2 separate regions of the Homo sapiens genome follow, and region 1 is linked to region 2. The links are contacts of gene promoters, found by promoter capture Hi-C in human tissues and cell types (Jung and others, 2019). All regions are on one chromosome and are shown on one strand. Each heading gives the region's core, a stretch centred on a gene start or on the middle of the fragment in contact. The rest is flanking DNA. Distances are from core to core; before and after follow the strand shown. Region 1 holds the start of ZNF878 (zinc finger protein 878). Region 2 overlaps ZNF136 (zinc finger protein 136).

The links. The method cuts DNA at HindIII sites, captures the fragments that hold promoters and counts their contacts. A contact is called where the count stands out against the background at its distance.
Region 1: a contact is called between the fragment with the promoter of ZNF878 here and a fragment that was not itself captured in region 2, in 3 of the 25 tissues and cell types used here (adrenal gland, lymphoblastoid cells and mesenchymal stem cells).

What each region holds. Positions count from the first base shown.
Region 1 is chr19:12,051,391-12,057,350 of GRCh38, reverse strand. ZNF878 (zinc finger protein 878) reads left to right here and starts at 4,390. Exons shown (of 4, transcript NM_001080404.3): 1 at 4,390-4,552. The coding sequence starts at 4,550. RefSeq lists an enhancer at 4,051-4,556 and a silencer at 4,745-4,794. The HindIII fragment of the contact is 7,236 bases long and covers 979-5,960 here.
Region 2 is chr19:12,187,370-12,193,433 of GRCh38, reverse strand. It overlaps ZNF136 (zinc finger protein 136), which reads right to left. Exons shown (of 4, transcript NM_003437.5): 4 at 3,563-6,064. The coding sequence ends at 5,433. Among named protein-coding and RNA genes, the nearest start is that of ZNF136, 27 kb to the right of the region's middle. The HindIII fragment of the contact is 7,748 bases long and covers 1-6,064 here.

The DNA.
Region 1 (5,960 bases), core at 3,141-5,640, 140 kb after region 2:
CAAGCGATTCTCCTTCCTCAGCCCCCCAAGTAGCTGGGACTACAGGCGCCTGCCACCACGCCTGGCTAATTTTTTGTATTTTTAGAAGAGACGAGGTTTCACTATGTTGGCCAGGCTGCTGGTCTCGAACTCCTGACCTCATGATCTGCCCGCCTTGGCCTCCCAAAGTGCTGGGATTACAGGCATGAGCCACCGCACCCAGCCTGTTTTTCCTTATGTCATACATAACGCACAGGAGGAGGCCGGGCGCGGTGGCTCACGCCTGTAATTCCAACACTTTGGGAGGCCGACGCGGGCGGATCACGAGGTCAGGAGATCGAGAGCATCCTGGCTAACACAGTGAAACCCCGTCTCTACTAAAAATACAAAAAATTAGCCGGGCGCGGTGGCCGGCACCTGTAGTCCCAGTTACTCGGGAGGCTGCGGCAGGAGAATGGCGAGAACCCGGGAGGCGGAGCTTGTAGTGAGCCGAGATCGCGCCACTGCACTCCGGCCTGGGCAACAAGAGTGAAACTCAGTCTCCAAAAAAAAAAAAAAAAAAAATTAGCCGCGCGTGGTGGCGGGCGCCTGTGTAGTCCCAGCTACTCAGGAGACTGAGGCAGGAGAATGGCCTGAACCCGGGAGGAGGAGCTTGCAGTGAGCCGAGATCGCGCCACTGCACTCCAGCCTGGGCGACAGAGCGAGACTCCGTCACAAACAAACAAACAAAACAAAATAAAAAAAAGCACCACAGGAGGAAAGCAGAGACTCTGCTGGCGTCTTATTCACACACTGGGATTGAGGGTGTTTGTTTCTAGGAACTGATCAATGGGGTAAGAAGCGGCTTAATAACCTGTAGGGGGCAGCAGAGCCGGAGGCCAATGACTCCCCGCTGAGGCTAGTCTGGAGTTTGCAAAAGGAGGGAAAGGGGGCTCCTTTTGCAAACTCCTGGGGGCTTCCCCCGGAGCCCGCCCTCCCTTGAAGGTGGCCTCCAGCTCCAGAAGGAGTGTGGATTCTGGGAAGCTGCAGAGCCCTGGATGGCAGAAGACCCACGTGCAGATGCGCTCGGGGGTTCTGTCCTATCTGGGGTTGTACCTTTCAGAGGTACCTTCAGGCCTGGAGCTATTTTCTGGGCAGTGTTTTGGTTTTGGCATGCACAGGGTCGCTGGGGACAGACTGTAATTGATATATATGAAGCAAATCTGTGAAGGTCAGCCTCAGAGAACAAATTGTTTGGGTTGTGTTATGAACAAAGGGTTTATAAAGTTGACTTTATTTAAGTCATAATGTCAGGGGTGTTTGAAGCAGAGTGAAACCATCTTGAATAGGGGCTGGGTAAAATAAGGGTGAGACCTACTGGGCTGCATTCCCAGGTGATTAGGCGTTCTTAGTCACAGGATGAGCTAGGAGGTCGGCAGGACTGGTATCACAAGATACAGGTCATAAAGACCCCACTGATAAAACAGAATGCGCTGAAGAAACCAGCCAAAGCCCACCAAAACCAAGTTGGCGACGAAAGTGACCTCTGCCACCCTGGGCAACACAGTGATACCCCATCTCTACAAAAAATACAAAAATTAGCTGATTGTGGTGGCCTGTGGCTGTAGTCTCAGCTACTCAGGAGGCTGAGCTGGGAGGATTGCTTGAGCCTGGGAGGCAGGGGCTGCAGGAAGGCAGAGAGGCTGCAGCGAGCTATGATTGCGCTGCTGCACTCCAGCCTGGGCGAGGGAGTGAGACTCTGTCTCAAAAAAAAAAAGAAAAGAAAAGAAAGTGACCTTATGTGGTCCTCACTACTTATTATACACTAATTATAAAGCATTAACATGCTAACAAACACTCCCACAAGCGCCATGGCAGTTTACAAATACCATGGCAATATCCAGACGTTACCCTATGTGGTATAACAAGAGGTAGGAACCCTCAGTTCTGGGAATTGCCTGCCCCTTTCCCAGAACACTCATGAATAATCCACCCCTTGTTTAGCACATAATCAAGAAATAACTATAAGTATACATTGTCAGGCAGACCATGCTGCTGCTCTGTCTATGGAGTAGCCATTCTTTTGTTTCTTTACTTCTGTAATAAACTTGCTTTTACTTTATGGACTCACCCTGAATTTGTTCTTACATGAGGTCCAAGAACTCTCTTTTGGGGTCTGGATTGGTACCCCTTTCTGGTAATAAGATTAAACTGACTCCAGGTGAGAGTTTCCCGCTAATGAAAATGAAGGTGTGGAGAGGAGGGGGAGTTTCCACACTGTGAGGAGAAGATGGGTGTATGTGAGGAAACCTTGGCCATGCCTCATCCCGATTCTTGCCCCACTGCAGGAGATCTGTCTCTCCCTCCTGGAGCAGTCATACATGGCCTTGTTCCCCTCCTGCCCTGAGACAAGGGGATGGCTTTGTGGGGGTGATAGACTCTTCGTGTCCTAAAGGTTTGCTGAAAACTAATTGATCTGAGGCAGATTGATTAATAGAAAAGAAGGCATGCAAATGTATTTAACATGTATACATGGGAACCTTCAGAATGAAGACACACCCAGCTATAAGACAGAGAAGATTATATAGCGACCTGAGGTCAGTAAATTAGGTTTAGTAGCAAGACAGCTTAGTAGACTGAGAAAGGAAGAGGCTTGGCTAGAGGTGGACTGTTACGTAGATGATGTCTCCCCCAGAGAATAGACTTTTTTCCTTTTTATGAGACAAGGTCTCACTCTGTCACCTAGGCTCGAGTGTAATGGTGCAATCTCTGCTCACTACAACCTCCGTCTTCTGGGTTCAAGCAATTGTCCTGCTTCAGCCCCCCGAATAGCTGGGATCACAGGTGTGTGCCACCAAACCCAGCTCATTTTTATATTTTTGGTAGAGATGGGATTTCGTCAAGTTGGCCAGGCTGGTCTCAAACTCCTGACCTCAAGTGATCCACCCACCTCGGCCTCCCAAAGTGCTGGGATTACAGGCATGAGCCACCATGCCTGGCCCTAATCTATTTACTTATCTTTTTGGTAGAGACCTGGTCTCACTGCGCCCGGCCACTGGTTTTTTGTTTTGTTTTGTTTTGTTTTTTTGAGACACAGTCTTGCTCTGTGGCCCAGGCTGGAGTACAGTGGTGCGATCTCTGCTCACTACAAGCTCCACCTCCCGTGTTCTCGCCATTCTCCTGCCTCAGCCTCCCGAGTAGCTGGGACTACAGGCGCCCACCACCACGCCCGGCTAATTTTTTTTTTGTATTTTTAGTAGAGACGGGGTTTCACCGTATTAGCCAGGATGGTCTCGATCTCCTGACCTCGTGATCCGCCCACCTCGGTCTCCCAAAGTGCTGGGATTACAGGCGTGAGCCACTGCGCCCGGCCAGCGCCCGGCCATTTAAAAAAATTTTAAATAATAAAGACAGGGATCGGCGGGCGAGGTGGCTCACGCCTGTAATCCCAGCACTTTAGGAGGCCGAGGCGGGCGGATCACCTGAGGTCGTGAGTTCGAGACCAGCCTGACCAACATGGAGAAACCCCGTCTCTACTAAAAATACAAAATTAGCGGGGCGTGGTGGCGCATGTCTGTAATCCCAGCTATTTGGGAGGCTGGGGCAGGAGAATCGCTTGAACCTGGGAGGCGGAGGTTGCAGTGAGCCAAGATCTCGTGCCACTGTGCTCCAGCCTGGGCGACAGATCGAGACTGTCTAAAAAAAAAAAAAAAAAAGAAAGAAAGACAGGGATCTCGCTGTGTTGATGATGTTGGCCTCAAACTCCTTGCTTCAAGGGATCCTTCCGCCTCAGTTTGCCAATGTGGTGGGATTATAGACATGAGTCACCATGTGCTACCTCTCTTCAGATTTTAAAGGTGTCAAACTCTCAATAGCTTTTAGATCAGGGAAAGGAAAAGAACGGGGGAGCTGGCAGTGCTTCATTAACGGAGATTCTCTACAAATGTAAATTTCCCCCTCAAAAGACAGTTTTGCAAGGCCACCTTTTGTTTGCTGGCCAAGCAGCAGCCATTTCAAAACTGTCAAAGAAATATATTTTGGCAGGGCAATATCTTGGGGCAAAATATTTTAATGTCTTTCACATTTTGTGGACACTGAATCTGGAATTCCCTGCACACTTGTGTCCCGTGTAGGATGAAGGGGCAGGGACGGCCCACGGAGTGAGGAAGACAACAGTGTCCCTTCTAGCAGTTCGGAGCAAGTTTGGCCGAAGGCAAATATTCGAAGTAAAGGTGGGAGGGAGGGAGGGAGCTGACCTTGGAAAGTGTGGCCAGAACCAGTCGCTTCGGCTCTGCAGCGCCCAGTTACCCGGGGCTTCTGCTGTCACTCAGGGAAGGGGGCGGAGTCTAGACCCCTATCCAATCAGGGGCGCTAGGGCGGGGCCCTGCCACTGTCCTCCAGGGAAGGGGAGGTTGCATTCCCGCTCTCTTCACTCCTAGGGCTGCTCGCGCTAGTTAAGGTCTGGGGCTTTCTTGCTCCGAGAGGGACCAGTTACTTCCGCCGTAGCTGCTGTTGCTCTGTCGACTGCGCTGTGACCTGCACTGTTCACGGGACCTTTAGAGAGGACGCCAGAATACCTGGAAGCCAGGAAATGGTGAGCATGCGGTGCTGGGGAGTCCCAAGGCGAAAGGAGGGACTGGGTGGAACCGAGAGGAACCCGCTGTGGCGGGGCCCGGGCCCCCCTGCAGCGACTCTGGGCTCCAGACACAGTCCCCCTAGCGCAGCTCGGCCCTCGGTCCCCTCGGCCGCTGGGTGGAGCTGGGCCGGCAGCCGGGACCCCGGGCGTCCTGTCCGGTCCCTGCGCGGCGACTGCGGCCCCGGCCCCGGCTCCCTCTCTGAGCAGCTCCGCGCCCGCAGCCCCGCGTCTCCCCAGATTGTGCGGTGACCATGGAAGGGTCATGGGGGATCCTGCCTCGGGTGTGGGGTTCGTGTGGGAGGAGCTGTGGGCTGTGGGGTCCCCAGTTCCTTTTTTTTTCCAGTTAAAAATTAAACTGAGGCACTGTTAAAAAATGAGAGTTTATTTTAGCAAACAGCGATTAATGAATGAGAAACTCCCAGTCCTGGCTTGTGGTTTGGTAACGGAAAAACCCAAATCGTGTAGAATAAGTTTATTCTGAGCCGAATAGGAGAGACCTCGGCTGAGGGAAACACAACCCCGCGAAGTCTGGAGTAAGCAATCCCGAGGCAGCTCCTGACAGTTTGGTTTTATTCATTTCAGGGAGACAGGAATTGCAGGAAAATGATGAATCAGTGCCGGGAAGGTGTAAGTTCCTTTGGCCGAAAGGCGGGACACATGGAAGCGGGGTTAGAAGGCACAGGTGGTGGAGGGATTCTGTAGGTGGCAGTTGGTTGAGAGTGTGTAAAGCTTTGTCTAAAATTTGGAGGCTGTAGGAAGGAGGGCTGTTATCTGCCACGTTATTCCATCCCAGTCCCCGCCCCCTTCCCCAAAAGACCTGTTTTTATTTTACCAGATTTTTATATTTTTGAGACGGAGTCTCGCTCCGTCGCCCCAGGCTGAAGTGCTGTGGCGCCATCTCGGCTCACTGCAACCTCCGCCTCCCGGGTTCAAGCGATTCTCTTGCCTCAGCCTCCCGAGTAGCTGGGACTACAGGCGCCAGCCACCACGCCCGGCTAATTTTTGTATTTTTAGTAGAAACGGGTTTCACCATATTGGCCAGGCTGGTCTTGAACTCCTCCTGACTTTGTGATCCGCCCACTTCGGCCTCCCAAGGTACTGGGATTACAGGCGTGAGCCACTGCGCCCGGCCAATTTTTGTATTTTTAGTAGAGACGGGGTTTCATGATATTGGCCAGGCTGGTCTCGAACTCCTGACCTCGTGATCCACCCTCCTCGGCCTCCCAAAGTGCTGGGATTACAGTGGAATGCCCCACTGCACTCCAGCCATGGTGAAAGAATGAGACTGTCTCAAAAAAAAAAAGTTAAGCTCCTTCTTATATAGGCAAAAAACAAAGAAATTTAATTATCGCAACAATTAGTACAA
Region 2 (6,064 bases), core at 1,683-4,182:
TGATCCGCCCGCCTCAGCCTCCCAAAGTGCTAGGATTACAGGCATGAGCCACCGCGCCAGGCCTAGAACATTTTCATTACCTCAAAAAAGAAACTCCTGGCAGGGCACGGTGGCTCATGCCTGTAATCCCAGCATTTTGGAAGGCCAAGGCAGGAGGATAGCTTGAGCCCAAAAGTTCATGACCAGCCCTGACAAAAGAGCAAAACCCCATCTCTAAAAGAAAAAGAAAAATTAATTGGGCATGGTGGTGCACACCTGTGTTCTCAGCTACTCAGGAGGCTGAGATGGGAGGATTTCTTGAATCCAGAAGTTTGAGAGTGCAGTGAGCCTTGACAGCCTGGGCTACAGAGCAAAACCCCATCTCTTAAAAAAGAAAAATTTAAAAAACAAACAAAAAAGCAAAGCGGCTGCTCTATTTTCCATTCTCACCAGCAGTGTATGAGGGTTCCAAGTTCTCCATATCCTTGACATGTGTTATTATCTCACTTTTTCATTCTACCCATCCTAGTGGGTTTGAAGTGGTATTTCCTTGCCTTTTTGTTTAGCATTTACTTAATGATGTCCAGCATCTTTTCAGGTCCCCTTGCTCAGTTGTTTATCTTCCTTAGAAAAATGTATATTCAGCTGGGTGCTGTGGCTCACACCTGTAATCCCAGCACTTTGGAAGGCCGAGGTGGGCCGATCACTTCAGCCTAGGAGTTTGAGACCAGCGTGGCCAACATGGCAAAACCCGTCTCGACTCAAAATACAAAAATTAGCCAGGTGTCGTGGCACATACCTGTAATCCAAGCTACTCCAGAGCAAGACCATGTCCCCTCCGCCTCCAGAAAAAAAGCTGTAAAACAGGCTCTGGCAGATCATTCAGGAAGTATTCTGAAAGGTTTTTGTCTTTTTGTTTTCTGGGTTTTTTTTGAGACGAAGTCTGGCACTGTCGCTGGAGGCTGCGGCAGGAGAATCACTTATACCAGAGAAGTGGAGGTTGCAGTGAGCCAAGATCGCATCACTGAACTCCAGCCTGGGCAACAGAGCAAGACTCTGTCTCACAAAAGAAAAAAAAAAAAGAATTACTAGGGCCGGGCGCGGTTGCTCATGCCTGTAATCCCAGCACTTTGGGAGGCCGAGGCCAGTGGATCACGAGGTCAGGAGATCGAGACCATCCTGGCTAACACGGTGAAACCCCGTCTACTAAAAATACAAAAAATTAGCCGGGCGTAGTGGTGGGTGCCTGTAGTCCCTGCTACTCGGGAGGCTGAGGCAGGAGAATGGCGTGAACCCGGGAGGCGGAGCTTGCAGTGAGCTGAGATTGCGCCACTGCACTCCAGCCTGGGTGACAGAGCAAGACTCCGTCTCAAAAATAAAAAGAATTACCAAGGGTAGAATTAAGTTCACCTCTTCACTATATCAAATACAGAGAAATTTTTTGCTTCCTTAAATAGGAATCAAGCAACCAAAAAGCAGCATAAGTTCTGCAATAAATTCTTTTAAATACCCTCTTATTGATACACCTTACAGTCATTACTGGTTTGTGGTGGTATTTATTATTTTTTTATTTTTTGAGAGAGTCTCACTCTGTTGCCCAGGCTGGAGTGCAGTGGCGTGCTTGGCTCACTGCAACCTCCACTCCCAAGTAGCTGGGATTACAGATGTGCACCACCACACCAGGCTAATTTTTGTATTTTTAGTAGAGACAGGGTGTTGCTATGTTGTCCAGGCTGGTCTCCAATTCCTGGCCTCAAGTGATCTGCCCGCATTGGCCTCCCAAAATGCTGGGATTACAGGGTGAGCCACCGCGCCCGGCCTGTGGTAGTATTTATTACCACAATTTATTACACCCTGCTTGACAACAGGGACGTCCCTGATAGTCCTTGGAAAGAAATCACTCACAACATGATTTGACTTTTGGTATTATGCATATGAAAAACTACTATCATCATAAAAGTTGTAATCAAATAAGCATGAAAACTAAAATTTATGAGGAAAAAAAGGCCTGAAGTTGTAAGCTCACAGTAATATTGACTCACAATGTTGGACAAATAGCTTAATTATAAAGTTTATCGGATCCATGATTGGAATGGGATATTTTAATATATATTCTCAATAAATACAAAACTCACCAGACAGTATGCAAGTTGCTTGCATACTGTTAATATTTCTAAGAAATGTGTAGAGAACTTTTGTTTGAGGAGGACATGTATATTGTTTGTAATCATATGTACTCAAACATAATTCAAAATAAACTGAGGGACTGCATTCAGCTATGAGTAACAGGAAACACCCACAATGTTTCTATAATGAATAAGGTGCTTATTCTCACATGAAAGAACGGGGTGAGACCCATCTCTGCATAATGCAGCAGAGGAACAAGCTCCATGTAGGGTTTTTCGTTTTGTTTTTGGATAGTGCCATTGTAGCTCTCAACCTGCATCAGTAACACTCACTGTCCCTATGGACAAAAATGTTTATGTACAAACTGGACCGTACAGGAACCAAGTCAGATCATCAGACTATTCCCAACAATGACAATATGAACTGATTACTTGGCAGATATATTAGGGCCTTCAGGAATATCCAAATGGCAGCTGAATCTTTGATATGAAGCTTTTAAAAACATCTATGGAAATCCATAACTTTGAGAACATGGAGGTGAAGTAGCTAGTGGTGGATTAGAGGATACTCTTTTTTTTTTTTTTTTTTTTTTTTTTGAGACAGGGTCTTACTCTGTACTCTGTCACCCAGGCTGGAGTGCAGTGGCATGATCTTGGCTCACTGCAACCTTCACCTCCCTGGCTCAAGCGATTCTCCTGCCTCAGCTGGGACTATAAGCACGCGACACCACACCCAGCTAATTTTTGTATTTTTAGTAGAGATGGGGTTTCACCATGTTGACCACGCTGGTCTCGAACTCCTCACCTCAGGTGATCCGACCGCCTTGGCCTCCCAAAGTGCTAGAATTACAGGTGTGAGCCAGCACACCCGGCTGAGGATACTCTTGATTGGCAGGGCAAAGAATCAGGAAAATGGGCTAGATGACCATGTCCAAACAGCCCATATGCATCTGTCTCTCCGTATGATGCCTCCAAAATCTGACTAATGCGTTCTTCACTTCTGCATTCTAAACTTCCAGGAATTTAGGCTATTGATGCAGTCTACAGGTAACCATGAAAGAAAGAAATTCTGGGCCAGGCACAGTGGCTTATGCCTGTAATCCTAGTGCTTTAAGAGGCTGAGGCTAGAGGGTGACTTGAGGCCAGGAGTTTGAGACCAGTCTGGGCAACATAGCAAGACACCATCTCTACAAAAAAAAAAAAAGATGAAAAACCAAAAATAAAAAGATTAGCTGGGCTTGGTGGCACATACCTATAGTTCCAGCCATTTGGGAGGCTGAGGTCGGAAGGCCACCTGAGCTCCAGAGTTTGAGGTTACAGTGAGCCACAGTCGTGCCACTGCACTCCAGCCTGAGTGACAGAGTGAGACCCTATTTCAGAAAGAAAGAAAGAAATGAAGTCTGAAAAGTTTAGTTCCCATTACCCAGATTGACATGACACAATCCATGAAAGGCATCTCCCATTTTAGATTTTATTATTCTATCATAGCTGTCTCCTTATCCCAAAATCAATTATACAAAGAGCAGCCAGAATAAATAACAAGGAGTAAAGAACAACAGGTTAAAATAATAATTCACGAGACTACAGTCTGTGATAAACTTTACATACTTAGAATTAACAACAACTCTTTAATAGGAAGCAAAATAAAATTATTTGAGCCAAGAAAAAAAAAATGGGCTAGGTGTGATGGCTCACACGTGTAATCCCAGACTTTAGGAGGCTGAGGTGGGTGGATCACTTGAGGTCAGGAGTTCTACCAGCCTGGCCAACATGGTGAAACCCCATCTCTACTAGAAATACAAAAAATTAGCCAGGTGTGGTGGCACATGCCTGTAGTCCCAGCTTCCTAGGAGGCTAAGGTGGGAGAATCACTTGAACCCAGAAGGCAGAGGTTGCAATGAGCCGAGATCATGCCACTGTACTCCAGCTTGGGCAACAGAGCACAGAGCGAGACCCTGTCTCAAAAAGAAAAAAGAAGAAAGAAAAAAGAAAAAAGGAAAAAAAAGGAGCTGTTCCAATAAATATGATGGAATGTATATAATGTGGAAAGGGAATCAAGAACCTGCTAAATGAAGCAAGTAGGTTCATACCAACATTTATTAAGACTTATTTTTCAGTGGTCCTCAATCACAGAACAATTAAGCAACCATATACAATTTAACATACCTGAATATGAGAAACACATTTAAATTCATTGTTGGATTAAACACATTTCAAAATGGAAAGACAAATATTTTATTTACTGACCTAAAACAACACTACCTATGAAATTCATGCACTATTGCTTTCAGATTACTTACAGGATTATATCAATTTAACATTTCTTTGTGAGATTAAGCATTTGAAATCCATAGTCAGAGAACTATTTTAAATATGAGCCACTAATTAACAAAATATACATATAGCTTCTACATTTCCATCAGGTTATGTATTTTCTAGAGACTACATGACCCGCTATGCATGAGGCTTTTTGAAGTACTTACATTTATAGGATTTTGCTGTATTAGAAGTTTTCAAATGACTTTTTTTTTTTTTCTGAGATGAGGTCTTGCTATGTTTTGCACACTGGTCTCAAACTCCTGACCTCAAGTGATCCTCCTGCCTCAGCCTCCCAAAGTGCTGGGATTACAGGTGTGAGCCACCACACCCAGCCAGAGCCAAAACATCTGTTCAAATTCAATACCTCAACTAGTGAGGCCCTGCTGGGATTGAAATCCAGCATCTCCTGTTTGCCAGACAAGTACTTTAACCCACAAAGCCACAGAGCCAGAGCCCTCAAATGACTTTAAAAGTATAATGGAAAACCTTCCTTGTAGTTTTCACATTTATAGTGTTTTGATCCAGGGTACATTCTTACATGTTGTTGAAAGCATGTGGGCTGGCTAAAAACGTGTGGACATTGCTTATATTCAAGAGCTTTCTCTTTTGTGTGTTCTTTCATGGCTTCAAGTGGAACTAAAATGACTAAAGGCTCTCCCACACTCTTTACATTTACCAAGGTTCTCTCCACTACACATTCATGTGTGACAGGGTTGTGTGATGACAAAACCTTTCCTACACCCTTTACCCAGGGTTTCTCTCAAATATGGGTTCCTTTCCAAAAAGCATTTGTTTGGTTTTCTCCATGATGAGTTCTTTCATGTATTTGAAAGGAACTAAAATGATTGAAAGCTTTCCCATGTTACTTACATGTATATGGCTTCTCTCTAGAATTCTTTCATGTATTAAAAAAGGCACTGACAGAATTTCATGCTTTCCCACGTTACTTACATTCATAGGGCTTCTCTTCAGTGAGTATTTTAATGTATCTGACATGAACCCAGAGCATTAAAGGCTTTCCCACATGCATTTATAAGGTGGTCCATCTTCAGCATGTGTTAACATGTGTCTCTGAAAGCTGGCACGGCAAGAATAGGCTTTCCCACATTCCTTGCAATGATAGGGTTTCTGTCCAGTGTGAGTCCTTTCATGTAGTCGAAAGGAACTAGAAGATCTAAAGGCTTTACCACATCGCTTACATTCAAAGGGTTTCTCACCAGTGTGAATCATTTCATGTGTTCGAAAGGAGTTGAGATAACTGAAGGCTTTCCCACATTGCTTACACTCATAGGGTTTCTCTCCAGTATGAGTTCTTTCATGTATTCGAATTGATGTTGAAGAAACGAAAGCTTTACCACAATGTTTACATACATAAGGTTTCTCTCCAGTGTGAGTTCTTTCATGTATTCGAAATGGACTCAGAGAATGAAAGGGTTTCCCACATACCTTACATTTATAAGGTCCTTCTCCAGTATGTTTTATCATGTGTCTTCGCATACTTGGGATACAACTGAATGCTTCCCCACATTCCTTACATTCATAAGGTTTTTCTCCAGTGTGAGTCCTTTCATGTATTTGAAAGGTACTGGCAGATCTAAAGGCTTTACCACATTGTTTACATACGAAGGGTTTCTCACCAG